3 separate regions of the Homo sapiens genome follow, and all the other regions are linked to region 3. Evidence: promoter capture Hi-C in 16 types of primary human blood cells and fetal thymus (Javierre and others, 2016). All regions are on one chromosome and are shown on one strand. Each heading gives the region's core, a stretch centred on a gene start or on the middle of the fragment in contact. The rest is flanking DNA. Distances are from core to core; before and after follow the strand shown. Region 1 overlaps LOC105373760 (a long non-coding RNA gene). Region 2 has its middle 140 kb from the start of ATP5MC3. Region 3 holds the start of HOXD1 (homeobox D1).

The links. Contacts are between HindIII fragments. The CHiCAGO score rates a contact against its expected background, and 5 or more counts as called.
Region 1: a fragment that was not itself captured here is called in contact with the fragment with the promoter of HOXD1 in region 3 in 4 of 17 cell types (naive CD8 T cells, total CD8 T cells, naive B cells and 1 more); the score reaches 7.1 in naive CD8 T cells.
Region 2: a fragment that was not itself captured here is called in contact with the fragment with the promoter of HOXD1 in region 3 in 1 of 17 cell types (neutrophils); the score reaches 6.1 in neutrophils.

The regions. Positions count from the first base shown.
Region 1 is chr2:177,139,936-177,143,289 of GRCh38, forward strand. The region is part of intron 1 of LOC105373760 (a long non-coding RNA gene); the gene reads right to left. Among named protein-coding and RNA genes, the nearest start is that of MIR4444-1, 71 kb to the right of the region's middle. The HindIII fragment of the contact is 2,510 bases long and covers 722-3,231 here.
Region 2 is chr2:175,323,670-175,327,226 of GRCh38, forward strand. No RefSeq gene overlaps it. Among named protein-coding and RNA genes, the nearest start is that of ATP5MC3, 140 kb to the left of the region's middle. The HindIII fragment of the contact is 2,057 bases long and covers 1,071-3,127 here.
Region 3 is chr2:176,186,648-176,190,298 of GRCh38, forward strand. It overlaps HOXD1 (homeobox D1), which reads left to right and starts at 2,021. Exons shown (of 2, transcript NM_024501.3): 1 at 2,021-2,806; 2 at 3,161-3,651. The coding sequence starts at 2,155. The coding sequence ends at 3,495. HAGLR (HOXD antisense growth-associated long non-coding RNA) reads right to left here and starts at 2,311. Exons shown (of 3, transcript NR_033979.2): 1 at 2,167-2,311. MIR7704 (microRNA 7704) reads left to right here and starts at 2,196; the gene lies at 2,196-2,254. The HindIII fragment of the contact is 11,390 bases long and covers 1-3,651 here.

The sequences.
Region 1 (3,354 bases), core at 727-3,226, 950 kb after region 3:
TGGCACATTAGCTTCGTGGTATATTTCATAGCTTGGTGATTTCAGGTAAGTGACAAATTGCTTTATATCCTTTCTGTACCTGGGTAAACTGAGGTACAAAGTGAAATCAGAGACAGAACTAAAAGCAAAACATGAAGTTCCAAGATTTCAGTTCCCGTTACTAAAATTCATGTATTCATTTATTCAATAAATATTTATTATGCAGCTAAAATGTAAGAAACATAAGGATAAATCATGTATAGATCCTACTCTCAGAGACTGCAATTACTAAGATAATAAGGAATCTACCTAAATTTAAAAAGAGATAATGCTATAAGAGAGGTATGAGTGAAGGAGAGGTTTCTTTTTACTCATGGAGTTAGAGAAGTATTATTGAACAACAAAAAGAACACAGTTGTGATTCAATACTGAAAAGTTGAATTTCTATGGTTATATGATGTGCATTATCTTAGAAAAATGAACTCTATGTAGTACTGAGTGAAAAAGGTGGGTTGATGCAAAACAGTATGTATGTTTATTATACACATTTTACACACACACATCCACATACACCAACGTGCATGTGTAAACCAAACTGCTAACAATGCTAGTCTCTAGTTAGGGGAATTACAGGTGGTTTTTATCATTTTGCTATCTATCATGTCCAATTTTATTACAATGAAGCTTAATGGTGTATTACAAATCAATAAAAGGGGAATACTTGTCCATGGTGACCAAATAAAGCTTGCATCATGCCATGATCAGTGCTGCACTATGCAGAAGCTAATGCTGACATGTGATAGACGATGACCAGGATGCATGACTTGCCCACTTCTTTTCTGATAGCCCCAGCTCTGATTTGTTTCCATTTGACAACACTGAATGAGTGGTACAAAATTATTGTCCCTACCTTTGTGTAATATTCAGAGAACTGAGTAGATGCCTAGAGATTCAAAAAAGGACCAAAATAACCAGAACTCTTGAGAGCGTACCTAATTACACAATCATTAATAATCAATATAGCTTCACAAAGAACTTGTCCTATGTAGATAATAGACAGTCATCCTATTACATAGCAGAGTGGAAGGCCTGATGGATCACAGAAAATTAACTGATGAACCCTAAGCTGGACTTTAGGAAGGCTTTTGATTCTCTCCTACAAGGCATGCTAGGAAAATAGACCAGGAACAGACAACTGTTGATTCATTAACTATAGATTGGCTGGGGAGTTCTAACTAAAGCATTCAAATTGAGGAGACGACAAATGGTGTTTTTGATATCAACCCGAATAACAGACAGAAGAGGCCAAAAAATGAAATTTAGAAGGTAAAATAACAATTTAAGATAAAATTGTACAAATAAGAAACAAAATGTAGATTAAACGTAGTATGGAAAAATGTGTTCAAAGTACACACCTGAATTACAGGAGCTAATTAGAAATTGTTTGCATAGAAATATGACTGTCAGTAGGCATTGCTGTAGCAGTTTAAAATACTGTTTTGACAATGAATACCGAATTAGGACTGACAGACAAATGCATGTTGTCTACACCCATGTTAGCACTTAACATGTTGTATTGCCATTACTTGTTGGCAAATCTTTCTCTCCCTCAAGGTTTTTGTTAAATCTTACTGTATTCCCAGCACCTAGCAGAGTCTGGCAGAGAGAGGATTTTTCAATACATCCTCAGGAATAAATGAGATCATCTCCCATCTTCCTCAGATACCTTAATAAAGCACTAAACTCCCCTCAGAGTGCTATATTTAAAGATGGATATGAATAATTTGCTGAGCATTCAGAGGAGAACTTAAAAAGGTGGGGAGTTGATAAATGAGAATTGGATTTTTCCGTTTATAGAAGAGAAAGCTGGGGGGTAAATTAGTTACAATTTTCTTTTTGAAGAAATCTTACGCAAAAGACATCTTTTTCTATTAAAAATGTCCAAAAGTGTCTGGGTTAGAAGCCCAGATTAGGGAAATGGACCATTAAATATTGGAATGGATAACAACAGAAAAAAAAAAAAAACCTCAACTAAAATATATTTTACTAAATGCTTTCACAAAAGAGCTAGCTCCTGAGCTCCAATGAAGACTCACGTATAAGCCGCTGTGAATTAAGAAGCTGGCCTTTCAACCAAGCCCCTTACGTAAGAGCCAAGACTCCACAATTTCATGATAAATGAGTAACCAGCCATCATCAGAGAGTTTGCACAATTAAACTGACAATTCAAAACTCAATTTTATTTTCATGATATTTATGTTCAAGTTATCATAGAAGTCTGTATCAACAGAATATAAAATATACTATTGATGTATAGAAATTAGATTTCTGGAAAATCCCATACTTATTTCTTCATGTATATTTGCATAGATTTCTATTTTTTTATTAGCTGGTTATTTCTTAATTGAGAGTGTTCTAAATAAAACCTGATATTAAATACAATATAATTATTTCAGTTCCAAAATACATCCAGTATACCCAGTAAATATGGCTTTAGTAAGAAATTGTGAGAAAAGAATCCCACTCTAATTGATTCTCACCTATGTATCAAATATTATTTTGTTCTATTCTTCAATCATTATTTTTTCTTTTTTTTTTAGCTGGGCAGCTCCCTAAACCAGAATAGGTTCAGAGCAACTCCTGGTCATCATTTTTTATTTGCAATATAAAAACTGTTATATATTATATTAATTATAATTTATAATTATAAATTATAATATAATATATTAACTGTTCTAATAACCCATTTGTCACTATAAATAGCCTTTGAGTTTTTCTTCCATTCCAAAAAGGAGTAAAAGGTCCCCCAAACCAATTGATTTAACACCAAATTTAAATAAACCCAAAGACCCTCTCACTTTTCACATTGAGTAGAACAAGGTCAGACTGGGCATCTTCCAAATGTAAAGGCTTAATTGGACTAATTCTTTCATGATAATAATGTATATTTAAGATAGCCACTAAAAATTGTCAATGCTAATTTAGTAGATCAATTCCATTAAATGCTTTGAACTTTTCACCACTTGCTAATCTCATCTATTACAGCTGCTGTTTTTGTTGAAAATCTAAGCTATAACTTAATATCAAATTACAACATTTCTAGGCAGACCTAAAAAATACTTTCTTATATGTGAAATATAACCTAAAAAGACTGTAAGTTGTGTAAATTGTAAGATTCTAGCCATAAAATTTCCTGCAGTCAAAATGCAGAAAGATCTTATCAATCTATTGGCAATTGACATTATGGTAAGAAGCTTATGGGTTTTTTTTTAACATCTTAGAAATAAATGTTTTATTGTATCTAAAATAAAGCTTTAACATTTGTGATTATTGATTGTAGACCCACCTTTATACACTAAATGGTTCAGACTGTAA
Region 2 (3,557 bases), core at 849-3,348, 860 kb before region 3:
CAAAATTTTATTATTCTCAGATCTTTAATGCCAGATACATAGAAAGAATTTACAACATGGCAGAAATGCCATGTGTAATTCTTGCCATTTGGGTAAAAAATAGTGTATGGCATCTAATCTCTGCAAGACAGAATGTGTCTTTTGTGGGGCCACTAGTCTTCTGCTAAGGGGCTTTGGGAAAATTAAGGAAGCCAGCCCCACCCTGGCTTACTTTCTGGGAGTATAATGGGCTCTGTAGTCTTCTCTGCCAGTCCTGATTCCAGTCATCCTACCTGCCTCTCCATGGCAAAGAGGGAAATTCAAAGGTCACATAGACTTGAAACAAGCCCCAAACCTGGTAACCTAACACACAAACAGAACCATTTCTGGATTCATTCTTCTCAGGGTAGAGAGAAGTGCTCTTAAGAAATGACATCTTGGCTGGGCGCGGTGGCTCACGCCTGTAATACCAGCACTTTGGGAGGCCGAGGCGGGCGAATCACGAGGTCAGGAGATCGAGACCATCTTGGCCAACATGGTGAAACCCCATCTCTACTAAAATACAAAAAATTAGCTGGGCATGGTGGCACATGCCTGTAATCCCAGCTACTTGGGAGGCTGAGGCAGGGGAATCGCTTGAACCTAGGAGGCAGAGGTTGCAGTCAGCTGAGATCGCGCCACTGCACTCCAGCCTGGCAACAAAGCAAGACTATCTCAAAAAAAAAAAAAAAAAAAAGAAATGACATCTTGCAGAAAGATGAGTCTCCACAAGCCATTGTAAACTTGAGAAAAGAACTTGAATTTGAGAAAGCATACCTGAGGCTAAACCAATACATTTATCACCCAGCTGAGAAGCAAATAGAAACAACCTGGTTTGGCTGAATTAGTGAATTAATATCTAGTTATATGTGCTTATTTTAATAGAAAGTTGCAGTCATATGAAGAATAAAGAAGTAACATACCACACAAAAACAAAGCCAAAATAACCAGAAGAGCTCCCAGCAGGGTTATGTTGTAGAATCCTCATCCCGTGTGTCTCTTTCCAAGTGCCACAGTGGTTGTAACCTGCCGGGAGGGCTTTTCCTCCCTTAAGCTTCTTTGGTAAACAAAAGAGTTGAAATAAAAGCTGCTGAATGAAAATAAATAAAGGTTTATGGCTAGAGAAACCTGTCTGTGTAGATGAATTAATCTTATAGAGAGTCCCCCAAAAAGAGAAAACAGTGGGCACATTATTGCCAAGTAAACCTGGCTTTTTAACACCTTTCCAGGTAAGCTCAGCCAAGAAACAGGAAGATTTGTCCAGTGTCAGGACAGGGCTTTCGAATTTAGAAGGCTTCTTGCTTTACAAAATGGAGGCAAGGTGGCCATTGGGCCAGAGACATTGGAAGGTGGTGGCTCACGGAGATTCACTCTAGGTCAAGTCCCTTATAAAATTATAGGGACTCCCTTTCCCCATTTCAAACTCACAGAATGACTGTAAAACTTGTGTTTATTTCAGGTGGGTAACTCCTCCCACATGAGTGGTCTGCCTACCCTCAGGAATATTTTTTGTCTGTGGTACCTCAGCCTATCATTGTTTGAATGGCTCTTCAGAATCTATGTGCTTCCTCTCATTCTTAGTGCCTCCTATGACCATCTACACTGAACAAGATTTATACAATCATGTACCTAAGCCCCGCAACAAAAGAGTACCCATTCTTCCTTTTGTTATCAGAGCAGGAGTGCTAGGTGTGCTGTGTGGCGGTATCACAACCTCTACTCAGTTCTACTACAAACTGTCTCAAGAACTAGATTTATACAATCATGTACCTAAGCCCCGCAACAAAAGAGTACCCATTCTTCCTTTTGTTATCAGAGCAGGAGTGCTAGGTGTGCTGTGTGGTGGTATCACAACCTCTACTCAGTTCTACTACAAACTGTCTCAAGAACTAAATGGTGACATGGAATGGGTCGCCGACTCCCTGGTCACCTTGCAAGATTAACTTAACTCCCTAGCAGCAGTAGTCCTTCAAAATCGAAGAGCTTTAGACTTGCTAACCACGGAAAGAGGGGGAACCTGTTTATTTTTAGGGGAAGAATTCTGTTGTTATGTTAATCAATCTGGAATTGTTACCGAGAAATTTAAAGAAATTCAAGATCGAATGCAATGTAGAGCAGAGGAGCTTCAAAACACTGGACCCTGGGGCCTCCTCAGCCAATGGATGCCCTGAATTCTCCCCTTCTTAGGACCTCTAGCAGCTATAATATTGTTACTCCTCTTTGGACCCTGTATCTTTTATTTCCTTGTTAAGTTTGTCTCTTCCAGAATTGAAGCTGTAAAGCTGCAAATCGTTCTTAAATTGGAGCCCCAGATGCAGTCCATGACTAAAATCTACCAAGGACCCTTGGACTGGCCTGCTAGCCCATGCTCCGTGTTAATGACATTGAAGGCACCCCTCCCAAGGAAATCTCAACTGCACAACCCCTATTATGCCCCAATTCAGCAGGAAGCAGTTAGAGCGGTCGTCGACCAACCTCCCCAACAGCACTTGGGTTTTCCTGTTGAGAGGGGTTACTGAGAGACAGGACTAGCTGGATTTCCTAGACTGACTAAGAATCCCTAAGCCTAGCTGGGAAGGTGACCACATCCACCTTTAAACATGGGGCTTGCAACTTAGCTCACACCCAACCAATCAGGTAATAAAGAGACCTCACTAAAATGCTAACTAGGCAAAAACAGGAAGTAAAGAAATAGCCAATCATCTATTGCCTGAGAGCACAGCAGGAAGGACAGTGATCAGGATATAAACCCAGGCATTCGAGCCAGCAACGGCTACCCTCTTTGGGTCCCCTCCCTTTGTATGGGAGCTCTGTTTTCACTCTATTAAATCCTGCAACTGCAAAAAAACAAAAAGCAAAAAACAAATGTTTATTTAAATAATAGCTAATACTTAAGCAGCATTTGCATATGCCAGGAAATTTATGTATATGAACTCCTTCAACTCTTACAATAATATCTATTTTGCTGATGGGGAAACCAAGTCACAGATAGGTTGAAAAACTGGACTAAGACTGCAGAGTGAGGATTTGAAATTGGGGCTACAGTCTGTGTTCTTAACCACTGCATTTTAGTGCCCCTTGCTTAAAGCATTATTTACTGCCTCTTTCAAGCTTTTATACAAATAAGAAACATAAAGCTGCACATTTCAACTCGAGTGACCATTTCCACTTGGTTCCGTTATCTTCTAACCATTTTAATAAACAAACTCATCAAACAGAAAAATTAAGTTTAAAAAAGTTGTCATATCCTGTTTAATGGCAAAATACAATTTTAGCAATGCTCTTTTGATATAAACATAAAAATATTGAAAGCATAAATAAACTGTCAGGCCAGCCAAATAGTAATTATTTTGACATTAAACAAGATATTCATCTGTTTTCCTGAGTAAATAATCTCTGACAGCATCTAAAAGACAATGAGATCACGCAGCATTCAGGCACTAATGTACTCACTACATGGGGATAAAAGAAGCAAATGTTGGTGGATCAAAGGGGGCTCAGAGCAATGAGTAATGTAACACTCATCTCAAATTAAACAG
Region 3 (3,651 bases), core at 771-3,270:
GAGGTCAGGAGATCGAAACCATCCTGGCTAACACGGTGAAACCCCGTCTCTACTAAAAATACAAAAAATTAGCCGGGCATAGTGGTGGGCGCCTGTAGTACCAGCTACTCGGGAGGCCGAGGCAGAAGAATGGCGTGAATCGGGGAGGCTGAGCTTGCAGTGAGCCGAGATCGCGCCACTGCACTTAAAAAAAAAAATTAAATAAATAAATAAATAAAAATTATTTAGGACCTTATCTGACTGGCTATAGCACAACTGAAATAGCAAAATCAAGATTGAAGGGCTATTTTCAGCACAGGTATTCCATTTCCAATCAAACTCAAGAACTCCAGCAGTGCAGGAACCACAGACCTCTTTAACTTTGTGCTGATTCCTAGGCATCCACCCTCTACTGGCTCCCCTCAACCTGGGGACATCCCTCCCCCATCCTGCAGCAACTTCGGGTCCATCAGTAGTCCACATTTTGGTAGGGCTTTGTTTATTCACAAGTCCACAACCCTGGAAGGAACTGGCTCCCTGGGCTGTGATGGCGCCTATTCTAAAGACTTCCTCAGAGTGGAAATTTAGGCAACAACAGCTCAATCGCTCTTTTATGACAAGTCAATCAGTAAAACAATGATAAAACCTCGGTTACCATAACTTAGAGGCTGTAATAGATTAACTTTTCAAGGGCACTTGATATAAGCTCTGAGTAGACTCTTTAGAGTCTTTATTCACACAGGGTTTTAGGAAACCACCCTCTTTCATAACTACTGTGTGTAAATAACCTCTATTTATCTAATTTGTAATTTTCCTACAGTCCCCTCAAAAGGGAACATTAAAAGAAATACTAAAGGAAGTTGGAAAGTTTGTCAATGTAAAGCTGGTCTTTGTAACCTTTCTACTCTTCATTTCCTGTGGCAATTGCACTTTTATTTCCCGTCTCTCTACACTCAGTAAACAAAACCATATTATCAAGGGAAAGACGTGAGCCCATTAACATTGTGAGCCCTCAGATTTCACTCACAAGAGACGATGCAGCACTTATCTGATGGAGCAGAAGCTCTAATTGCTTCGAGGTACAAGTCCATCTAAACCTCTGAGATCTCACCCGTCCCCGGTAAGCCCTTGCGCCCTCCAGACAAGCTCCTCAGTGAAAGCAAGCGCCGCACCGGTGCCTGTGCCAGTCTCCCAGAAAGGAGCATAAGGAGTGTTCCACCACCACTCTGGATTCTTTATTCCAACAACCCAGCCGGAGGGGAAAATCTGCTAAACCACCCCACAAGGCAGAAACTTTATCAAAATCTGGCACTACAACACTGGCCCTCATCACGCCGCCACAAATTGCGAGGGATAGAAGAAAGCTGCAAAGTCACGTTAAAAGGAAGCCTAGTCAAAAAGTGAAAATTTTGTCCCGCCCTAGGCACACAGCACTCACAGCATAAGATGTAGTTCCATGAGTCCTAGGAAAGGGGGAAGAAAGGAAAAAACCAAACATCTGCTCTAGGTTTAGAAGAGGGATAACATCAGCGCCAAGCAAACCGAAAGCGCAGAGGACTCAGAAGAGGGGAAGAGGAATAACTTTATCTGTCCTGGAGGTGGGCGAAGAGCAGTCTCCACCGGCCGCGCGTCACGCTCCCATTTAACCTTTTCCATGCCGCGACGCCCACACTCCGCCCTCGAGGGACTAGCCCCCCCCACGATCCAGAGCAGAAGCGGCTCGCCCCGCTGCATCCACGGGCCCTCACCCAAGCGTCCAGTCCTGCCTTTCTCCCCCCACCTCGCCCAATACCTGTCCGAGAGCAGGCGTTCTGCCCTCTCGCCCCGCCCTTGCCCAGGCAGCCCCCGGTCGCGACGGCTCTCCTCGGGGCTCGGGGGCGCTGGGCGGCGGCCCTGGGCTGCTTTGGCTAACTTGGCTGCGGGGCAGGCGCGAGGAGCGGCGCGCCGACCGGGCCGAGCGGAGAGGCCGCCCATTGGCCGGCCAGCGCCACGTGGCCGCCCCCGCCGGTATATTAGGCCACTATTTACCTCCGGCTCACTCGCCATGGGTTGGAGAGGGCAGCTCGGGTAGAGAGGGCTGGCGGAGCGGCGCAGACGGCGGCAGTCCTGCTCAGCCTCTGCCCGGCTCCGTACTCCGGCCCCGGCCTGCGCCCTCAGAAAGGTGGGGCCCGAACCATGAGCTCCTACCTGGAGTACGTGTCATGCAGCAGCAGCGGCGGGGTCGGCGGCGACGTGCTCAGCTTGGCACCCAAGTTCTGCCGCTCCGACGCCCGGCCCGTGGCTCTGCAGCCCGCCTTCCCTCTGGGCAACGGCGACGGCGCCTTCGTCAGCTGTCTGCCCCTGGCCGCCGCCCGACCCTCGCCTTCGCCCCCGGCCGCCCCCGCGCGGCCGTCCGTACCGCCTCCGGCCGCGCCCCAGTACGCGCAGTGCACCCTGGAGGGGGCCTACGAACCTGGTGCCGCACCTGCCGCGGCAGCTGGGGGCGCGGACTACGGCTTCCTGGGGTCCGGGCCGGCGTACGACTTCCCGGGCGTGCTGGGGCGGGCGGCCGACGACGGCGGGTCTCACGTCCACTACGCCACCTCGGCCGTCTTCTCGGGCGGCGGCTCTTTCCTCCTCAGCGGCCAGGTGGATTACGCGGCCTTCGGCGAACCCGGCCCTTTTCCGGCTTGTCTCAAAGCGTCAGCCGACGGCCACCCTGGTGCTTTCCAGACCGCATCCCCGGCCCCAGGCACCTACCCCAAGTCCGTCTCTCCCGCCTCCGGCCTCCCTGCCGCCTTCAGCACGTTCGAGTGGATGAAAGTGAAGAGGAATGCCTCTAAGAAAGGTAAGTCCGCGGGCCTTGGATGGGGCCACCTGGGGTTGGGGACGGAGCCTCCCCCGCGGAAATGCGCTGGGAGCGTGGTGTCGCTGCCTTTCCAGACAGCGGTTTGGGTTTTGTGGAGGAGACGCGTTCCCGGGCGAATTCCATGGAGTCTGCCTCGAGTACAGATTCGGAAAATGTGCCAGGCATTGAGAAAATTTCAGGAAGGAGCTCTCCGTGGAACTTCTCCTGGTACAAATTCTGTTCCTAGGGACCCAGGAGGGCTGCGCTGGGACTTTGATTCTAACTAGCTCCACTGCTCACCCACATTCTGTCCCCGGCCTCAGGCCTGGCTGACGCCCTGTCTTTACGTTGCAGGCAAACTCGCCGAGTATGGGGCCGCTAGCCCCTCCAGCGCGATCCGCACGAATTTCAGCACCAAGCAACTGACAGAACTGGAAAAAGAGTTTCATTTCAATAAGTACTTAACTCGAGCCCGGCGCATCGAGATAGCCAACTGCTTGCACCTGAATGACACGCAAGTCAAAATCTGGTTCCAGAACCGCAGGATGAAACAGAAGAAAAGGGAACGAGAAGGGCTTCTGGCCACGGCCATTCCTGTGGCTCCCCTCCAACTTCCCCTCTCTGGAACAACCCCCACTAAGTTTATCAAGAACCCCGGCAGCCCTTCTCAGTCCCAAGAGCCTTCGTGAGGCCGGTACTTGGGGCCGAAAAACTGTGGCCTGCAGAAGTCCCAGGCGACCCCCATCCCTATCTAGACTTAGGAGCTCAGTTTGGGATGGAGGTGGGAGAACAAAAATGAATAGGGATTTCACTTGGGAAATGAAGTACTTTAGTTGGCTTCCGAG